Regions from separate parts of the Homo sapiens genome. Here region 1 is linked to region 2. The links are contacts of gene promoters, found by promoter capture Hi-C in human tissues and cell types (Jung and others, 2019). All regions are on one chromosome and are shown on one strand. Each heading gives the region's core, a stretch centred on a gene start or on the middle of the fragment in contact. The rest is flanking DNA. Distances are from core to core; before and after follow the strand shown. Region 1 overlaps LIN52 (lin-52 DREAM MuvB core complex component). Region 2 holds the start of VSX2 (visual system homeobox 2).

Evidence for each region. The method cuts DNA at HindIII sites, captures the fragments that hold promoters and counts their contacts. A contact is called where the count stands out against the background at its distance.
Region 1: a contact is called between a fragment that was not itself captured here and the fragment with the promoter of VSX2 in region 2, in 2 of the 25 tissues and cell types used here (dorsolateral prefrontal cortex and ovary).

The regions. Positions count from the first base shown.
Region 1 is chr14:74,136,489-74,141,633 of GRCh38, reverse strand. All of the region lies in intron 5 of LIN52 (lin-52 DREAM MuvB core complex component), which reads right to left. LOC105370563 (a long non-coding RNA gene) reads left to right here. Exons shown (of 3, transcript XR_944024.3): 1 at 1-1,410. Among named protein-coding and RNA genes, the nearest start is that of LIN52, 54 kb to the right of the region's middle. The HindIII fragment of the contact is 4,455 bases long and covers 1-3,693 here.
Region 2 is chr14:74,236,183-74,241,372 of GRCh38, reverse strand. VSX2 (visual system homeobox 2) reads right to left here and starts at 1,924. Exons shown (of 5, transcript NM_182894.3): 1 at 1,442-1,924; 2 at 107-191. The coding sequence starts at 1,811. RefSeq lists an enhancer at 1-573. The HindIII fragment of the contact is 17,172 bases long and covers 1-5,190 here.

The DNA of each region.
Region 1 (5,145 bases), core at 217-2,716, 99 kb after region 2:
CTTTACCTCCAGAATTTCCTATTTTAAAACAATACTGGACTAAAATGTAACATTCCTGAAGTAAGGAAAATCACTTCATGTAAAAGCAGAGTTTGAACTATGGAACACAAGTCAGTGGATGCAACCTGCTTGTATGGTAAGGCTTCATTTATAAGGTCCAAGTCAAACTATCTACAAAGAGTCTTGAATTGGTACATCCATATAGTGAAATCCTATGAAGCATTTGGAAAACAGTGAAGCAGATCTATGTATACTGCTGTGGAAAGATATCCAAGACATGTTGTGGGGTCAAAGATAAGTCACAAAACAGTATGTATATTATGATTGCATCTGTGTATGGTAATGTATATAAACTTTACTATGTACAGAAAATGTCTGGAAGCATCCATGGAGAAACTGTTCGTGGCAGTTACCGCTCATAAATTCAGCAGATAAGGATTTTACTTTTCACTTTATATCCTTTCATGTTATTTTAAAATATTCTTAAAATCAAGAGCTTGTATTATTTGTATAAGTTTAACATATTCCTTTAAAAGCACAGAGAGATCTTTACAGTGGTTTCCTCCAGAAACCACTTATTTACCATTACAGTGTTTGATAATTGAAATGAAAAAGTTAAAACTGTTCCTTTTGTAGTTAACATCATTGTAATGTTCCTACGATAGCTTTTATTAATGAATTTCCATGGGGGACAGAAGAGAAAAACGCACACAACGGTATTACAAAACAGAAAAAAAATAAGGCACTTGCTAGGACAAGGCAATCCACAAGTGCCAACCAGCTCCAGGGCCATAAAGATCTCAGGAGAGCCATCACATTTCAATTACCATCACTAACATTACTTATTATTTGGCCTGCTCCAGTCCCTAAGGAAGGCAGCTTGTGATGATAATACCCAGCCTCTTCTTGTAAAACAATTCATTAGGCAAAGCAGAACAGCTGGGGCAGCCACGTGCGGGTTCTTAAAGCACCGCCCCACTGGGACCTCTGGCCCAGATTTCCCTTTTCGTGACGGACAGTCACCACCCCTCTGACAGCTGTAGAGTCCTCCGGGGACACTTCAGGTTTAATCAGTACTTCCTGCACTGGAGAGGGTCATTTGATTTCTAACATAAACTAATGGCAATCCTGCTTACAGCAGGTTACACCAGACATCAGATAAGAGGCTTTAGGGCATTTTTATCTTGTTCTAATGCTCGAGAGTTAATGAGGCAGCAAAAGATATTGTCATAGAGCCCCGGTGTAGCTATATTATCCAATAAACAGACTCTTTCCAAGACAGGTTTAATATGGATCGAGGAGGTAAAGAAGGCTAGCTTAATATTGATCCTACTGAGAGGATGAGAATCCAGTCACCATAACTAGGGCAAAATCATGCACATTCTGCAGTAGACAAAGTGCTACAAGAAGGTAAGGAGTCGCCTTTAAATACTAAGAGTAAAATGCTGCTTTTTACATTTAAAGCAGCAAAACTCTACTAGACTTATTTGGTGTTTTGGGCTAAGTTATTTTTAAAAAGCTTTTAAGTGAATCTATTTTTGTGTTTTTGCTGAAGTGTTCTTAGGAGTTAAATTTTAAATTAGTAATAAAGCTATTGTGGCTTTATATTAATTATATAATCTATACACTATATATTATAAAAGGGATAGCTTTTTTACTAGCTATGAAGCATGTTTTATTACATTAAACCATAGACTGCCTTTAACTTCTAAATATCACCACAGTCTACCTCATACAGGCTTCAGAAATAATTCAATCATCCATTCAACAACACCAATAGCCTATTATAATCAAGCCTATGTGAAACACAGTGAATATAAAAATAAACTCTTGGACTCACTATGCTAGCTGCATAAAAGAAAATATTACTCTAGCAATATTTTTCTTATATCTTAGAATCTGTTTTGGTAAACATACACAAATCAGAAATCCAAGTGTTTCTCTTCTCCATACTGGAAATATCTATAGCAGGTTCTGCTCAGCAATTTTAAAAACTGACCATTTCTTGAGTGGCTTGTTCCCTGAAGATGAAAAAGAGCTGATATTTTCTAATATTTATTTACTTGGAGAAATAGCCAAAGGGAGGGGGAAAAAAAAAGGTCTGCAAGATCCTTTAACAGGAGATGTTGGGCACGCAGTCACCCATTTATGGAGCACCAAACAAGCTTAATGTGGTAAAGAAAACAAGATCACTAAGTCCATACATGCACCTGTAAAATCACTAATTCTGAGCTTCCTTCTCAACACATCACCTCACATCCTTCTACTGACCCCACTGCTCTTGCAAAGGTCTCTTGTCCCCTGCTATGGCAGAGAATATTGGCTGCCTATTCCAAGATCCATGTTCCCTCTTCCTCTGTATTAACAGATAGCCAACTTTTTTGCTACCAAAATTATAGCTCAGAATAAACAATTACATTATTTTGCAGCCAGGCCAGGTGATTTAAATTCTGTGGGACTTCCAGGAAGGCTGCTTAAAAAGAAAAGTGTCAGCTGTGTGGGATCCCTTTTTTAAATTAAATTCCTACCCCACCTTCTTGCCTACAATTCAGGCATGATGGCTAGAGCTCTAGCGTGTATAAAGTATATTTAGGATGGAAGGATGGAAACTTTAGTCCTTGATGACACCTTTGGAACTGCCCTACCTGCTAGGTGCATCTACCTCCAGCTTTCCTTTTTGTTGAAAAAAAAAAAAAAATGCTACCTTGTGTAAGCCACAATTATTTTAGATTTCCTGTTATATATGGTTGCACTTTATCATAATTAACAGACTATATATTCACAACCTTTTCACCTATATAACCCTGATAGTAGTTTAAATTGTTAAGTTATTCATTTCAAAGATGCCTTTTTTTTTTTTTTTTGAGGCAGGGTCTCACTCTGTCTCCCAGGCTGGAGTGCAGAGGATAGGGGGTGGGGTGAGGGTGCAATCACAGCTCACTGCAGCCTCACTCTTGGACTCAAGTGATTTTCCCACCTTAGCCTCCCAAGTAGCAGAGACTACAGGCTTGAGCCACCTCACCAGCTAATTTTTAAATTTTTCTGTAGAGATGGAGACTCGCTATGCTGTCCAGGCTAGTCTTGAACTCCCGGCCTCAAGTGATCATGCCACGTTGGCCTTCAAAGATGCTTTAACAACACCTTAGCAAACAAAACTGAAGTTTTATAATGCATATCTCAGTTCCACACTAAATTGTATTCTCCTAGTCACAAGGGCTTAAAATCTTGAAATCACTTTGACTCATCTCTCTAGTCTGTTACAATTTATCAATTTTCCCCCAAAATATCTTATCCATTCTCAAAAATTCCTTCCCATTCTGAAGTGTATTCTTTCCTCTTATATACAAATATTAGACATCAAATTCTATTTCAAGTTTCATCTCTTCCAAGAGGTGTTCCCTGGATTATTTACCTCACTTTTCCCTCTGTTTTCTGAATGTGCGGAACACATGCTCAGAAAGGGAGCATGGTGTGAAAAACGTTAGATCAGGCAGAGCTGTAAGGCCAAGTTAAAGGTTTTTGACTTGATCCTGAGAACAATGAGAAGCTGTTGACAGATTTTAAGAAGAAGGGAATAAGGTCACATGTCAATTTGTGTTTCAAAAATATTACTCTGACTGTGGAATAGAGTAGTTATTGGAGAAAATATCAATTCTACAGGTAATTCATTTGGAAGAAGGAGAGGATACCAGAAATAAAGGAGCTTGATAAAGCAGGCTTATTGTAAAGAGAGAACTCAAAACTCAATATTCTAGAAGAAAATGATAGTCATTTGAGTAAATATATGTTCACCACAGGAAAAAGCTGGTAAATATTTATTAAAAGAGCTACTGTGAGGCCAGGCGCGGTGGCTCATGCCTGTAATCTCAGCACTTTGGGAGGCTGAGGCAGGCGGATCACGAGGTCAAGAGTTCAAGACCAGCCTGGCCAACACAGTGAAACCCCGTCTCTACTAAAAATACAAAAATTAGTTAGGCATGGTGGTGCGTGGCCTGTAATCCCAGCTACTCGGGAGGCTGAGGCAGAAGAATCACTTGAACCCAGGAGGGAGAGGTTGTGGTGAGCTGAGATCGCGCCACTGCACTCCAGCCTGGGCAACAGAGCAAGACTCCATCTCAAAAAAAAAAAAAAAAAAGAGAGCTGCTGTGAAGAATTTAGTGCTCAATGTTCTCTTATCAAGAATGTAATGGCATTTACAATGCCAGAACTTGGACTGGATCTTGGTTTTAATAAAAATGCTACACAAGATTTTTAGGGACAATTGGGGAGGTCTGAATGTGAAAATATATTAGATTTTTTAAATTATTTTTGTTGGATGTGATAATATTATATAGAAAACTATCCTTATTCTTAGGAGATGTGTTCTTAAGCATTTAGGGGTAAAGTGCCATGATGTCTGAAATTTACTTCCAAATGGCTAAGGAAGAAGAGAATATCAATACGTAATATAGATTAAAAAAATATATATATATATATATTCATATATAAAATATACACACACAGAGGGGGGTTTGCTGGGTGATCAAAATTTTTTCATAATGAACTGTTGGAGGAAAAGAAGACTTAATGACTTTTCTTCTTAATTTAGTGAAGAGGGGCTTCTTTCCTGACCTATTTGTGGCATTGATATTCATTTACTTGATAATTTGAAATAAGTTTTTAAAATTATAGTTCCAAGGAAATCCGGGATTTTAAAAAGTAAAACATCACATAAGGATTTTAACCCAATAATTATCCCTTCTACAAGTAAACAGATCAATACTCTAACGCTCCCTTTAGTTTCAAGCCTGGCTACTACTGGATTCCATTCTCACTCTGATTAAGGGGGGCAGCTGCTGGTCCTCTTTCAACCTGGAGACATGTGATTGAATCATTCTCCAGCACCTATATTTATTAAACCTTTAATACAAAGTTATCAATCCCTCTTGCAGAGTCATTTCAAAGAACAGTAGATACACAATTTATTATCCAAATAATATTTTATTGTATTGTTCTTTTCTTTTTTAATAACGTTTTCCTCCAACACTGTGAGACTGTTGGCTAATTAAACCCTTGTTTTTACTGAACTTAACAGCTGACAGCAGCAGAAATGGATGCAAACAACTATAAACTATTTTCCCTCCTATCAGAAGAAAAATGCTTCCC
Region 2 (5,190 bases), core at 675-3,174:
TCAGATCCGTTGTCGGCGAAAATAGGGTCCGAGAGACCCGATCCCGGAACGGGGGACGGCAGCGGGGTGCGCGGGCAGGAGAGGTAACAGAAAGCGGGGGCCTCACCTGTGTCGCCGCTTCTTCCGTTTCTTGGTCTGGTTTAAAGCAGATTTGGACATTTTTCGATCGCTGGAGGAAACATCTTCAGAATCTGAAAAGCGGGCGTAGGGACATGCGGCAGAGTGGGGGACGCGCTCCGCTGTGCCCGAAACCCGCGAGGGCCCCACCCCGGGCTGCCTCCGCGAGCGGCGGGGACCTGCTCTGTCTCCCCAGGAAGCCTGCGGGCGCCCCGGTGGCCGTCCCATCCCTGAGCTCAGGCTGACCTCTCCCGCGCCGGGGCCCGAATCCGGAGGTTTTGAACAGATTTCGTTGTAAGAGAGGCAAAGGCCCCGGCGCGCTTGGGACCGGGACGACGGAGAGCGAGGCAGCCTTAGGGGGCCGCAGAGATCCCCGGCAGCGCTCGCGACCCTGCTGCGCCCTGCCCTGCGCGGCCAGCCCCAATGCCCCGGGCCGGAAAGTTGGCCTCGAGGAGCGAGGAGCGGAGCGGAGGCGTGGGGAGCTGGGCTCCGGGAAGACTGGGGGCTGCCGAGCACCGTCCTTTTCGCAAGGCGGCACAATGCGTCCCTACTCGAGGCCCGAGAGCCTGCGACGCGCTGGTTTTCGTTGCCTTTCCACGTAAAACAAAGTAAAACGCAACGAAAAATCGGGGGAATTGCCAAGCTCAAACAGGAATCGGAGGTTCGAGCGGGCCGCGACACACCTCCCGGAAAGCAGCGCGGGGAGAAGGCGGAGAGGTCACCCAGGGTCCCCGAGCCCGCGCGTCCCCGGGCTCCAGTATATAGTGGCGCTTACGTGGGAGAGGATGGCGGCCGCTTTAGCTGCCGCGATGGCCGGGTTGTCTGAGCTCGTGGGGGTGAAAAATAAACCCCAGTTGACCAGCGCGGGATTTGGGAATCAGACAACTTTGGACACCAGGGATGGGGCCGGAGCCGGAACAGCATCGGGCTCGAGGAGTGCGGATCCTACACCAGGCCGGGGCCGCAGTGGAGCAGCGGTGCTGGGGCCCTCCGACACGGCCGGCGACTCTGCACCACGGGCTCCGACACCCCAAACCCAGTTTTCAGTGGGGCTCCAACAGAGTGCCGTGGCCGAGCCCTGCCCGACGCGGGGACTGGAGAACTGCGCGGCCGCCCGAAACGCTTGGGGCCGAAACCCTGCGGACGCCGAAGCATCCTCCCGGGCCCCATCACCAGGCGCGTCGGCCCAAGGCCCAGGCGGCGACCCCCGGCCTGGCAGGAACTTTTCCGCCTGGAGGCCTGGTCCAGCAAGCGAGAGCCGACGGCGCGGGGCTCCCGGCTGTCGCCCCCCAGTCAGGCAGCAGCGCAACCTCTCCTCACCTACCCGAGCTGGCCGTCTGGCTGGTGTCCAGCGGCCCCGATGCTCTGCCCAATGGCTGCAAGTGGACGCTCTGCGGGTCGGACAGCACTTCCAGGAAGGTGGGCTGCGTGTAGAAGCCAGGGAGCCCCCCGGGCCCCAGAAGCCCCATGCCGCCCACCCCCGCGGGGCTGAGCACTGAGCGCGCCGCCAGCAAGTGCCCGGGGGCCAGGCCGTCGAGCGCTGCCCGCGGGTGGGAGCTCGGGGGCTCCTTGTTCAAGCCCAGGATCTCCTGGATGCCGAACCCAGTGCACCTGGCCGGGGCGCCCCCCGAGGTACTCTTGGCCACTGTCTCGGATTTGGGCTTGCTCAGCGCTTCCCCTGCTTTCCCCGTCATCTCCCTGTTCTTTGGAGGGGCTGAGGCCGCAGGTCTTTAGCTCCCCCCACCCCCCCGCCGGGCTTCCCGCTTCGCGAAGTTGGTCCCAGGTGCCCCCTCCGGTGTCTAATGCTCTGGAGCCCAAGGAGATTCCCCTTTTATCCAACCAGGCGGCAGCCCAAGTGGGGTCAGAGCTGAGCAGCCAATCACCGGGGCCAGGAGCGATTAGGAATTCCAAAAAGCTGGCAGCTCCCGCCGCAGGCAATGTCGAATGGCCAGGGTGCTGGGGGTGGAGCACCGGGTGGGCTCTGCAGGATGCCCATGGGCAGGGACCCCAGGGGCCGAAGTGAGACAACCAGGTTCAGGTTCAGGGCTGTTCCGGGAGGCAGAGTGGCTTGGGGCTCTGGGCAGATTCTGGCAGGGACAGGTCCCTGAGGTCAGGTGGAAGGATGGGCTAAGGGCAGAGGTGAGAGACTGGGAGACCTCCTTCCCTCAACTCCTATGCAGGTTGGCAGCATCAGGGCGGCCTGAATATGGCACCTCTGTGTAAACGGTTGAACAAGGGAGAGGTAAGTGCTGGGGCAGTGTGTGTGGTGGTAAGCTGGGAAAAGATCAGGCCAAGGTGTGCAGAGGGTGATGTAGGGGTAGGGAAAGTTTGCTTCCCCAGCACAAGGTATAATGCCTAGTTCGGAAGAGCTACTCAACACATATTGGCCCAATGAATGAATGATAAATGGGTCAGAAAGAGGGGTCCCTGGTGGGAAAGAGGAACAGTGATGATTACTTTTGGAGAACAACCATGGACATCCAAACCTCTTCCTAGAGTAAGCATGAAGCATGCCCAACTTTCATGGGAGGACTTGATTCTTCCACCCAATTCATTCGACTAATATGTATTGAGCTACTAGCTCCGACCTGGTAGCCAGGGGTTCCGCAGTAAATCAGACAAGGCAAGGGCCCTGCTATACTTCAGAGTTCATTGAGCAAACAGAATGAAGAGGAAGGGATTGTTGATGTGGAGGGAGAGGAAGGAGGAAGCGGGTGAGAGGAAATTAAAAGGTAAGCTGCTTTCCCCTGCACTCCACCACCTCAGCTAACTCTTCTGTGACCTTCTTGGGGCTGGGAACTATCTTATCGACCTTGAGGCTCCCTTCTTCACTGCGCCTAGCATATGGTCAGTTCATGGTAGGTTCCTTGAATTGAAGGCACCCTATGGGGAGATAAGGACTAGGTCCATTGCTTTAAGCAGAGATTGGAAAACCAGGCTGGGAAGATTCCATCCAGGATTTCTTAGCCAGTCAGGTGCAAACCCCCAAATGGAAGGAAACCCCCTAGCCATACCTGGCCTATTGCCAAGGTGTCTGGTACCCTCGTGGCTGCCATGGGGCCAGCCTGAGAGGTAAGAGGAGGCACCTCAGGATGTGGAACCTAGACCTTGCTAGCAGGGCTGTTGTGAGGAGGGTCTCCACTCCCATTGGTTTGGTCCACATAACAGCTGGAATTAGGTAGGGGCATCTCATGGTGCAGGAGATATCTGGGAGAGTGGTGCCTCTGTATCCCATAATAAGGCCGTGCCTACTGTGTGCCTACATCATCCCAGGCCCCTTACATGGTGTCATCTCTGGTGACACAATCTCAAGGCATTCTTCACCTTATATTCTATGGAGGTGGGTCCCAAGTAACACCACTCACGTAGACAACAATGTGAATGGTGCCCTCTGGAGTTGTGCAAAGCAGTAGACTCACCTGCCAGAAAAGAATTTCTGTCCCCATTTAATGGATACACAAACTTATGTTGCCTAAGAGGTTACCTAGCTAGTAAGCATCAGAGGTCAGATGAGTCAGCGCATGAGTCTGATGTCAGAAGCTGTTTTCTTTTGACTCCATCCCTCTCTCAGCCCACTCTCCATGCCAGCCCACCCTGGGAGGATGGATGAGGATGTTATGTTAATGGCATCTGTCATGTCCCTGACTTATCATGAGACATCCACGATGAGCCAGATGCCAGCTGATGGGCAAACGTGAGTGATGGAAAACAAGTGTGTGAGTGATGAAGTTGGCTCTTGCCAGATGAGGATGAAAAATCTCTTGACCAAACCCCATGTCTGAAGCTGCCAGTTCCCAATATCAGAGAGATAGTCGCCATCCTGCTGTAGGAGGTTGGAGACCGGGACAACCCCAGGCCCCCTGAGAAAAACCCTTGCCAGAGGCTGAAGGTGAAGGGAGGACTCAGCTTCCACCTGCGGCCAGCTCCACCCTGGGAGCTGGACTCCTTGACAGACTCCTGGCTACGGGGCTGTCTCTGAGCTTTTGAGGTGTCACTGTTACTGCTCCCCAGCTGCCCAGCTTGGGCTGGACCCAGACTTAAGACATTTGTGGCCGGGCGTGGTGGCTCACGCCTGTAATCCCAGCACTTTGGGAGGCTGAGGGAGGCGGATCACTTGAGGTCAGGAGTTTGAGACCAGCCTGGCGAACATGGTGAAACCCTGTCTCTACTAAAAATACGAAAATTAGCCAGGTGTGGTGGCGTGTGCTACTCCGGAGGCTCAAGTGAGAGAACTGCTTGAACCCAGGAGGAGGAGGTTGCAGTGAGCCAAGATCGCGCCATTGCACTCCAGCCTGAATGACAGAGGGAGACTCCATCTCAAAAAAAAAAAAAAAAGACATTTGTGGACCATAACGGGGGACCCTACAAGGAAATGCAGATCCCCACAGCTTGGGCCAGGGGTGTGGGGAGTGAAGTGAACCCTTTCAGAGGCATTTAGTTTGGTCACACTGAGTCCAAACCTGGGCCTTCTCTGAGCTCATCATTTCTCTTCTCTCTTAACATCGATTGCTTTACCTAGAAAATAGCCCGATAATGGGGTTGTGAGCATCCCTTGACCCCCTGAGTTAGCATAGAGGACAAGGGCCTGGTCTCTAGAGCCAGACTGCCTGGGTTCAGATGCCCACTCTATCACTTGCTTGGTGACTTTGGGAATATTATCTAACCTCTTTGTGCCCTCTGTGCCTCAGTTTCTTCATCCATAAAATGGGGATCATAGTAGGACCCCACTCCTTAGAATTATCATAAAGGGCCAGGTGTGGTGGCTCACACCTGTAATTCCAGCACTTTGGGAGGGCAAGGCGGGTGGATCATTTGAGGTCAGGAGTTCAAGACCAGCCTGGTCAACATGGTGAAACCTGGTCTCTCCTAAAAATACAAAAATTAGCTGGGCATGGTGGTGGACACCTATAATCCCAGCTACTCAGGAGGCTGAGGCAGGAGAATCGCTTGAACCTGGGAGGCAGAGGTTGCAGTGAGCCAAGATCGCACCACCAGCCTGGGCGACAGAGTGAGACCCTGTCTCAAAAATTAAAAAAAAAAAAGAAGTGTCATGAAGGCCGGGCCTGGTGGCTC